Linked DNA regions of Homo sapiens: region 1 is linked to region 2. The links are contacts of gene promoters, found by promoter capture Hi-C in blood cells and fetal thymus (Javierre and others, 2016). All regions are on one chromosome and are shown on one strand. The core of a region is centred on a gene start or on the middle of the fragment in contact, and the rest is flanking DNA. Distances in the headings are between cores, read along the strand shown. Region 1 overlaps SPDL1 (spindle apparatus coiled-coil protein 1). Region 2 holds the start of MRPL22 (mitochondrial ribosomal protein L22).

What was found. The method cuts DNA at HindIII sites, captures the fragments that hold promoters and counts their contacts. A CHiCAGO score of 5 or more calls a contact.
Region 1: a fragment that was not itself captured here is called in contact with the fragment with the promoter of MRPL22 in region 2 in 1 of 17 cell types (fetal thymus); the score reaches 5.5 in fetal thymus.

What each region holds. Positions count from the first base shown.
Region 1 is chr5:169,586,983-169,592,537 of GRCh38, reverse strand. SPDL1 (spindle apparatus coiled-coil protein 1) reads right to left here. Exons shown (of 12, transcript NM_017785.5): 2 at 3,963-4,144; 3 at 1,314-1,490. The coding sequence starts at 4,121. Among named protein-coding and RNA genes, the nearest start is that of SPDL1, 6.0 kb to the right of the region's middle. The HindIII fragment of the contact is 258 bases long and covers 4,177-4,434 here.
Region 2 is chr5:154,939,572-154,945,126 of GRCh38, reverse strand. MRPL22 (mitochondrial ribosomal protein L22) reads right to left here and starts at 4,054. Exons shown (of 7, transcript NM_014180.4): 1 at 3,989-4,054; 2 at 3,862-3,910. The coding sequence starts at 4,016. RefSeq lists an enhancer at 3,955-4,114. The HindIII fragment of the contact is 1,041 bases long and covers 3,339-4,379 here.

The sequences.
Region 1 (5,555 bases), core at 3,056-5,555, about 15 Mb before region 2:
AGCAAGCTTAAATATGTAATTTTGGCCAGGCGCAGTGGCTCAGGCCTGTAATCCCAGCACTTTGCGAGGCTGAAGTGGGCGGATCACGAGGTCAGGAGTTAGAGACCAGCCTGACCAACATGGTGAAACCCTGTCTCTATTAAAATACAAAAATTAGCTGGGCGTGGTGGCGCACACCTGTAATCCCAGCCACTTAGGAGCCTGAGGCAGGAGAATCGTTTGAACCCGGGAGGCAGAGGTTGCAGGTGAGCCGAGATCATGCCACTGCACTCCAGCCTGGGCGACAGTGTGAGACTCTGCCTCAAAAAAAAAAAAAAAAAAAAGGAAAAAAAAATACTTTCATTGATGTTTCTTAAAATCAGTAAACATTAAAAGAGAGTCAATGAGAAATTAAGTAATAGTATAGGTGGTATACAGAAAAAGAAAAATCTTAGAGGCTGCTATACAAGAAGCTGAAAATTGGGTAACAGACTTCTGAGAAAGGAGGACAAAAGTCAGGCAAGTTTTGGTAGACAGTGTCTGGAAAAGTCAGAGTATAGACTATACACAAAGCAGATCCATGATAAAAAGTTCTGGATTCCTCAGAAGCAACCTGAAAGCACTGGCTAGCTGGGAAAAGGGAAAACCACTGACCAATCATTTATCTTGCGTTTATGTTTGAAATGGAGCCAGTGTAACATGCTGTTAGACTATGTAGTGATTCAGTAACACAGCCTTTGGAGTCAGACAGCCTCAGTTCAAACCTAGATGGAGAATTTCTAGTTCTTGAATTGTGTCCAATTTACTCAGTCTGTCTAAACACTGGCTCTTTCATCTGGTATATGGAAATGATAATGGTACCTTTCCACAATATTATTGTAAGAACTGGAGCACATGTATTAGTTTATCCTCAGTAAACAAACTATAAAGTGTCATTTGTAATGCACATTAACTAGTAAGAAACTACTGGTCTGTTTTACAGAATTACAAAGCATACCACTGACTGCAGGGAAGGCTAGGAGACGAGGCTTTCTGCAAGGGGCTGCTGTACCCACTATCAGCAAGGAGGCCATGCTAGTCACTAAACTAAACCTTCACAAATATCCAGCAACCAAAATTAAATAATTGTATTTAATTAATAGGATATAATTTATACAAGTCCCTTAGACAAACTCTTGTATCTCAGTGTTCCCACCCCCAATATTAAGATAATGAAGACTTAGATCTTGGCTATTTTGCAAAGCTGACACTTAAGAAAATCTTTATCATCTAAAGTTTACAGATGGCTGCATAAATATGGAATATTTTGTGCTGAAATACGCAGATATCCCAACCTTAGTTTTTAGTTCATTCACTTCCTGTCCATGGCTTCTGCTTAGTTGTTCTTCCAATTTCTCCAGGTGCATTTTTTGTTGTTGTTTAATAGCTTCACATTCGCAGCTCAAACTTTCTAACATTCGACTCTTGAGTTCAACTTCTCTTTGAAGGGTATATTTTTCTTGTTCATAACTCTGAAAACAGATTCAATTACAATTCAATTACATAAAAATAGCCTAAAGCCATTACATACAATCAGTTTTCAACTTCAATTGTTTCATTCTTATTTCAAGCATTTGCTGCTTTCCAAATAACGAAGACATGTTAAACCTGGAATAACTTTGTAGTTAATCAGTCTTAATAAACCCCTGAGGTGTATTTCGAAACTATGTTAAACCCATGCAAGGGATACCTTACTGCTTCTGTGCCTTGTCAAGGAAGTAAAATGTGCTCCATGGTATGTCAACACGTCAAGTCAAGTAATCTCTGCTAACAACAAAAAAAGATTTAACAGCACTTAAGCTTTCCTCATGAGAATTATTAGTTTGATAATGAGATGCTCTACTTGTAGCTCTGAACACAATGTAGTAGTAATAATAGTTGAAAAAAAAGAAATACTGAATTAGCCTTTACTTTCAGAATGTAGTCATCTGAGAAATGTCACAAAAGGTCTATCAGAATGAATGCAGAGCTGAGACAAAAGGAGTAATTAAAAGGGCTTTTGCTTACTCACAGGGAAGTTTAGACATTAAAAATGTTACAAGTACGAACTCCTTCAAGAGGCTTTAAAAAATGATAAAATATTCCCCTCAAAAACCATTTTATTTTAAAGGAAGACAAAGAGTATTAACTGTTAAACACTGAAATTTGACAAGTTATGACTCAAAATGATTAAGTATAACAGTTTTATTTTCTATTAGTGATATTTGTAATCTTTACTTTGCCTTTATGACTTTGCACTCAGTTCTTGGTTTACAACAGTACTATGTAGAAACACAAAGGTTGCCATCACTAGTTATTTTTACCTGCTACAGATATTTTTTACCTGCCATATTTACAATGTTGAGATTCAAGTTTAAATATGTTACTGAGCATTTGCTAAATTACCCAGATTTATTCATTCATTCTTTTAAGAAATAATCGTGTGGCAGGCATTCAGGATAGTGAACAAGGCATACAAAATTCCCTCTCTCATGGAGTTTATAATCTAGAGATAATTAGCAATGCAGATAATTAAGAGTGGAATCAGGGCCGGGCACAACGGCTCATGCCTGTAATCCCAGCACTTCGGCAGGCAGATTACGTGAAGCCAGGAGTTCAAGACCAGCCTGGTCAACATGGTGAAACCCCATCTCTACTAAAAACACAAAAATTAGCCGGATGTGGTGGCACACATCTGTAACCCCGAGCTACTCGGAAGGCTGAGGTAGGAGAATCTCTTGAACCCAGGAGGTGGAGGATGCAGTGAGCCAAGATTGCGCCACTGCACTCCAGCCTGGGCGACAGAGTGAGACCCTGTTTCAAAAAAAAAAAAGAAAAAAGAAAAAAAAAGTGAATCAGGGCAACTTTACATTACATAGTAAGGGCTGACCTCTCCGCTGAAGTGACATTTAAATGAAAGCTGAAATCTGAGGACTCAACCCAAGAGCAGTGAGGGGTAAACAACTCAAAAAAAAAAAAAAGGCAATAGCTGGTGTAAAGCCCATAAGGGAGGACCAGTATAGTCAAGAACAAGGCAAAGCAGTTTGAGGTGAGGTCAGAAGCTTGGCAGGGGTCAGGTCACATAGGGATCTACAAACCCAAGGATGGAGCTCAGATTTTGTTGTAAATAAAATCAGAAGCTGTTGTATGGTTTTTAGCAGGGCTGTGGCATGACCTTTGGTGTGTTATTCCACGACCACTTAGACGCTGAGTGAAGAATGAATGGCATGAATGGCAACAATGGAAGCAGGCAACCCGGCCAGAAGGCTACAATACTTGTCTAGGAGTGATGATGGTGATCTGGACTACAGTGCCAGTAGCAAAGATACATGCTTTGTAGTCTAGTTCTTAGAACTTATTAATGAGTGAAATGTGAGAAATAAAGGGAAGATATTGACTAAAAGTTCTAGATTTTTGGTATATAAAGAAACCAAAAATATACCAAAAATCTTTGGTATATAAAGATTTTTGGTGTTCAAGAAACTGAATGCTATTATATTTACTAAATAAGCTAAAAAAAATCGTAAAAGAATATTTGGTTAACGGACAGGGAATCCACTCTTCTGTCTGTGTTAAGTTTGAGAAGTCTATTAGTGGGCAGTTGAACACAAACCTAGATTTCATGGGGGAACTAAGGGCTTGGTGTAGTGTCATGGGGCACTTAGATGTTTAGAGGTCTAAAACAAGTGAGGTCTTCTAGGAAGTGTGCAGACAAAGCAAAATCTGGTAGTAAATGTGGCAAAGAGAGTAATGATAACTTGATCTTTCAAACTCTGAATACACTAGGGTGGAAAGAATAACAGGAATTCATTTAGTTCATTCTTTTTTAACAGGGACGGGGCAGGGCGGGAACTAGATCTAAAATCTTCAGAAAAGAATAAACTACTACTACTATTAATTGCTAAACAGGACAAATCTTCAATAGCTAAGCACACTCTTGCAGACAGAGGAGTCCAGAGTCCTACCTCAGTCATGGTCATCATTTCATTACGACATTTATCCAATTGATTCTGTAATTCATTTTGACTCTCTACTAGTTGTAAACCATACTGTGCAGCTTTTAGTCGCTCTTCTTCAGCCTCTTTGAGCCTGCATCGAAGATTTGTGATTATATCTGCCTCCATGTTCTTTTCTTTTTTTTAGCCAACTGTAAATAGAGGAAATAAAACTACTTAAGCTTATACAAAAAACTCCATGCAATAATATCAATAACAGAAGAAACATATCTACTCAATACTACTGTCGTATAAAAACATTAAAATTTTCTTCCTGACTAATAAGTAGTCAAATTTGCATTCTTGTTCCAAGAGCAAGAACTGTTCTGACAATTCTGTTACTGATTTGGGATCAAAAATTAAAGAGTGGAATAGAATACATTTAATTTTGCTTCTAAACAGTTCACCATCAGAAAACTGTTCAGTTGTTGTATGCTAAGCTTCCAATATGTTAAGGTAAGTTTGGTCTCATAATTGGACCACTATCCATATAATCAAAATTAAGGGAATAACAAAAAAGTAATCAAGAAACCTCATAGTAGCAGGTATGGTGGCTCATGCTTGTAATCCCAGCAACTGGGGAGGATTACTTGAGGCCAGGAATTCGAGACCAGCCTGAACAACATAGCAAGACTCCATCTCAATCAATCAATCAATAGAAATAAGGTGGGGATGGTGGCAAGCCCCCGTAGTCCTAGCTACTTGGGAGGCTAAGGAAGGAAAATTGATGGAGTTAGAGGCTTCAGTGAGTTATGATCATGGCACTGACAGAGCAAGACACTGTCTTGAGAAATAATAATGATAATAACAATAATACCACCAGAAAAGGAAGGTCTGGGTACTATAAACACATAAAATATAAAAAGGCAGCTGTGAATAAGGCTCATAAGGTAAAGTAAGAAATATCATGTCTGTAATTTTTCACAACAGTGTTAACTTCCTGAATATATTAAATCTGCTTTCCTGGAAAGAGATTCACTAGTATTTTTCTAGTTATTCATAAAAGTATGCAAAAATAGAAACCATATCCATAAGAATTAAAGGATGTTGCTTTCATTCTAGATTTATAAACAAAGACTTAAACATTATATATAGAAACATTCCACTTTAATCAACCTTACTAATTATCCTTTACTATTTGGTCCCAGCCTCCTAAGCGAGACTCAAACTCACCTTTGCCTTCAAAGGGCACCAGGTCATTGCAAGATGTTCCCCCATGTCTCAAGTCAATGTAGTCATTCACTGAACGAGTATTTCTTGAATGCCTTATATACTAGGTTCCATTCTGGGCAGTTCAGATTCATTAGGGAACAAAATGGACGAAAAAAAAGCTCCTCCCTCATGAAACTTACATTCCAGGAGGGGAAGATAAACAGTAAGTAACAGAATATTAATAAATTAGAAAGGGGAGATGAGAAAAAATAGAACAGAATAAGAATCTGGGAAGAAGGGACAGGTGATGTAACCAGGAGGCAGAAGATGAGAGAATCAGCCAGGCAGCTATTTAGAAGAAGAATGTTCCAGCAAGAGGGGAATCCTTAAGGCAGGAAGAAGCCCAGGGAG
Region 2 (5,555 bases), core at 2,805-5,304:
AGTCTATTCTCAACACAGCAGCCAGAAAGAACCACTCATAAACATAAGTCAGATCATATAACTCCATGCTCAAAACCTTACAACAGTTTCCCATCTTGCTCAGAATAAAAGCCAAAGTATTTACAAAAAATAATAAGGCTCTATATGATTTATGACTGCCCCTTCCTCTCTGACCTCATCTCCTATCACTATCCCTCTCCTTTTTGTCATTGTTCCTGACACCAGATATGGTTCCTTGGAGCTGTTGCACTTACTATTCTATCTGCACAGAATGCTGTTTGTTCAGATGTTAGCACAGCATGCTTCCTCATTTCCTTCAAATCTTTACTCAAAGATTATCTTTTAGTGAGGCCTTCCCTATCTAAAACTACAAGTTCCTCTCTCAAACACACATACTTCTTATTCTCAATCTCTGCTTTATTTTCTCATAAGCAGATGTCACTATCTAATATACTCTATATTTTACTTATTTTGCTTATTTGCCCCCCTTACTATATTGTACACCCCACAATGGCAAGGGATTATTGTCTGTTCCTGTTCCCTGCAAAATCCTCAGTGCTAGAATAGTTCCCAGCTCAGAGCAGGCACTAAATACATATTTGTAGAATCAATGAAAGAATACAGAGACAGGTAAGGTAAGAGGACTGAGTGTAAATAACTATGCCAAAATTTTACACATGGTTGGAAACTGAGGAAAGCTTAAGAGGATATGCCCCCATCTAAAGGGTGGTACAGACAGGCTTGGTGGCTCACGTCTGTAATCCCAGAGACTCGGGAGCCTGAGGTGGGAAGATCACTTGAGCCCAAGAGTGCGAGACCAGCCTGTACAACATAGTGAGACTCTGTCTCCTAAAAAAAAATATTTTTTTGGCTGGGCGTGGTGGCTCATGCCTGTAATCCCAGCACTTTGGGAGGCCAAAGCGGGCGGATCGTTTGAGCCTAGGAGTTTGAGACCAGCTTGGCCAACATGGTGAAACCCCATCTCTACTAAAAATACAAAACTTAGCCAGGTATGGCGGCCTGCACCTGTAGTCCCAGAAAATATTTTGTTTAGATCCTCACTTTGACATTTAACTGTGTAACCTTCAGTAAGTCACAAAACTTCTCAAATGTATGCATCAGTAAAATAGGAGACTTGGAATTCAAAAACTGAAAACTGTCAGTCAGCTAACAAATATAGCCTACAGAGTAATCCCAGCACTTTGGGAGACTGAGGTGGGAGATTACTTAAGCCCAGGAGTTTCAGACCAGCCGGGCAATATAACAGGACTTTGTCTCTACTAAAACTCAAAAAAAAGTCAGGTGTAGTAGTGCACGCCTGTGATCCCAGCTGCTTGGGAGGCTGAGTTGGGAAGATGGCTTGAATCGAGGCTGCAGTGAGCTATGATCATGATACCGCACTCCAGCCTGGGTGACACAGCAAAACGCTGTCTTTAAAAAAAAAAAAATTTTAATATCTATATATATATGTGTGTGTATATACATGTATGTATGTGTATATATGTATATATATGTGTATATATGTATATATGTGCATATATGTGTGTATATATATATATATCCTGCAGAAATGTTTTATTTGGTCAGCAGCAGTTTTCTTAACCTAATTCAATGTTTTTAGATGAGGAATACACTCTACTGACCACCACAGGCCCTCCCACTCTCATTTTACATAGACAACTTCCCTTAGTTTATTTATTTCTAGTCTGGGGCCTATATGCAATTAAGTTTCCTGGCGGCTCATGCCTGTAATCCCTCCAGGCCAAGGCAGGAGGATCACTTGAGCCCAGGAGTTAGAGACCAGCCTGAGCAACACAGCAAGACCCTAAAAATTAGCCAGGTGTGATGGCATGCACCTGTAGTTCTAGCTACTTAGGAAGCTGAGGTGGGAGCCCGGGAGTTTGAGGCTGCAGTGAGCTATGATCACAGCACTGCACTTCAGCCTAGGCACAGAGCGAGACCGTGTCTCCAAAAAAAAAAGGAAAAAAAAGTTTCTCATCACTGAATCAGATTATATGCTAAAATTTTACATGGTTATCATGAACATTATTTATACCTTTCTACTTAGTTTTCTTATGGTCATTTTCCCCACTAGAAAATCCAAAATAAGGATTCACAAAATTATGTAATAACTTCAGAATTGCAAATAGCCTTAGAGATTATCTAGCAAAATCAAACACTCTTGTATCATGACATAGAGGAAAAGACTAAAGGCAAACTGCTTAAGTTTCTTGCTCAGAGCTTCTTAATACAAGTTGGTGCAAGACAATTCAAATCAACATCAAAATACTTGCCTGTGTAAGACCTTATGCTGGAGGTACAACAATAAATAAATGTCCCTACTTCTCCAAGATACACAAGCTAGTAAAGGGCACATACACATATACATGAAGTCATCATAGAAGGCACACATGCTAAAAGGAAGGAAAAACTAATTTCTTTCCGTTTTAGAGAAACCAGTGAAAACTTCCTGAAGGGAAAACATCTGAACAGAGGTTTGAATAATGGGTAGGACTGCTGTTATAGACAAGATGTGAGGGCATAGTAGGAAAAGCCAAGAAGCAAGTAAGTGCAAAGTATATTCAGAAAAAGTAAGTAAATCAGCATGGTTGGGGGAAGAGTGATAGAAGATTATCTAAGAAGAGTACAGACAAATCCTAAGAGCTACTACTTCCTATTTTCTTCTTTAGCCCACCTCTTTATCCCCCTCGGACCCAAAAACTTAGAAAAGGGTTAAATATAATTGGGAACTCAGTAATAATTTATAATAATAAAAACATTAATGGCAACTAGAATTCAGAGTGGGATTATCACATGCCATAAACATACTAAATACTTCATATGCATTATCTTGTTTGAATTTCCTTTTTAAAATCTACTAGAGCTACATAGATGGCATGTGCCTGTAATCCCAGTACTTCAGGAGGCTGAGGCAAGAGAATTGTTTCAGCCCTTAAGTTTGAGACCAGCATGGGCAACATAGCAACACTTCATCTAAAAAAATAAATAAATAAAAATTAAAAAATTTTTTAAATCCTAAGAGATAGGTACTAACATAACGCTCATATCATAAAAGTGATAACTGAAGCTTATTAAGAATAAGTAACTTTTCCAAGATCACAGTTAAAAAATGGATTCATATACAACTCATCTGTCTGCAAAGCCTATGAACTAAACCAAAATCAATGCTAACAAATGGACAGACCAGAAAATTTACAATCAGATTATCAATTTTCAAATACCGATTTTTTATTTTGGGGAGAAATACAGCGACTACTTACCCTAACCTTTAATGAATGCTTTTGTCCTAAGGCTACAGAATGCTCTGGTATAAAGCTTCAAAATTTCCTACAACTGAGTGGCCTTAGGCAAGTTATTTTACGTTTGGGGACTTCAATTTCCTTGTCTGAAAAACGGGTATAGCAGAACCTACTCGTAGAATGTTATGAGAGTGAGTTAAAGCATATAAACCGCTAAACACAATGTCAGGTACGACGTAAAGCAGAGTTGTCCACAACACGGTCCCTGCCCATGTAAGCAAGTAATCAGAGAGGTAACTTGAAAAGTTGGACGCTTCCATATGGAGATGGAATAGTCTAACCTTGTCCAGAAAGATCACAGTAGACGTTCGGAAATCGCATTTACAATCGCCCTTGGGTTATGGGTAATCCTGATCCCTGTACAGTTTATGCAATAAGGTGGAGAAAAAATAGAGTGACAAAGCAGAGACTCGGGCTGTCTCATTCGCCTCAGTAACCCCAGAGCCTAAAACACAGTTAGGCACGGAGGCGCTCAGTTACCAACTGGCAGAATACTAAAGATGCCTTGGGCCCTTCCGAAACTCCGAAGCGAGAGACTCACCCCAAGGCCAGCTTCCCCCGGCTCCTCAGGTTATGTATCCATAACGCACCTGCAACATCAACACAAGCCGTCAACTCAGATTCCATCTCGACTCCCTTCTGTCGCTTAACCACTAAGAAATCCTTACCCAACTGTCCCAGTACTGCCGCCGCCATCTTTCGCCCTCCCGCTACGGAAGCCGCCGAGTTCAAGCGCCTTCTGGACAGCACGCATGCGCAATACTCTGGATTTCCTGTGGGGCTCTCCCACAAGCAGTACTTACACCCCAGGTGCCGTCACGAAGATCGCAAGCACTGGGCCGGCGCTCGAGGTGTGGTCAGGCGAACCTGGCTTGGGAATGAATTAATTAATAAAGGCCGAAAGCACGTGGGCTTCCGAAAATTCACCTGGATTCAGAAAAACTAAAGTCCCAACTCACAAACTAGAAAGGAGTAGGGGAACAGAATCCGTGAACAAGCCACCTAATCCGGTGGTCCTCAGTTTTCTTATCAGAAATGACTAACCTTAGGGCACAAGCTTGTTGTAAAGATCAGTTGAAATAGTGTGAAAGCTATTTTATTTCATTTTATTGAAACAGGGTCTCTCTCTCGCTTAGGCTGGAGTGTGGTAGCAATGACCTAGTCTCACTGCAGCCTCGACCCCGGGCTCAAGCCACCCTCTTACCTCAGCCTCCCAAGTAGCTGTGACTACAGGCGCACATCACCACGCCCGGCTAATTTTTGTATTTTTTATAGATAAGGAGTTTCCCCAAATTGCCCAGGCTGATCTCGAATTCCTGGGCTCAAGCAATCTGCCCTCCTCGGCCTCCCAAAGTGCTAGGATTAGAGGTATGAGCCACGAAACCTAGCCTAAAATCTCTTTTAAAGAGCAAATAGTTCAAATATGATGTATGCTGTCCTAATCCCTACTAATCTGGTTGACCTTCAAGAATGAGTTTATATTCATCTGGCATTTACTGCCTTATGTCAGGCAGGTATTTCACTAAATCTCATTTATTCCTCACAGCAATCCAACAAGGCATGGATTATCATTTTCCTTCTTCAAATGAGGAAACATATTTAGGATATGTTAAAGTCTCTCAACTAACAACTGGCAAACCAGTGATCAATCTACGACTAGGTGCCTCCAAATTTGTGCCCCTAGACGCCTTCAAATATATGTATTTGACCCCTCTGTATTAGAATAACAGGTAGTTCAGATTGCGGTTTGCTACCTATGCAGGAATGTCAGATACCCAATGCAAACAAGCAACACACGAGTAGTGCAGAATCTGAGCATTTTAGCATTTTTGAGTTGAAAGGAAACTTTCTTCCACACCATTTACCACATACAGCTTCCTTCACACAGCTGGCCCTCAATCAAGCAAATCAAGAGTCACTCCATTTGCTTCTCCTTCATCTTTGAGTACCCAGAACCCAGAGCCAGAATTTCCACCCAGTTGCAGAAACTGTTCTTTCCCTTTTTAATTCCAGATTCGTACTTTCATATTTTTGTTTGTTTTGTTTTTTTGAGACAGGGTCTCACTCTATTGCCCAGGCTTGAGTGCAGTGGCTCGATCACAGCTCACACCAGCCTGTCTCCCGGACTCCATATTGTAATGCCCAACCTTGTTTTTACTAACCCTGTTTTTAGACTCTCCCTTTTTCCTCTGATCACCTAGCCTTGTTTCCACTTGAATTGACTCTTGCTTAGCT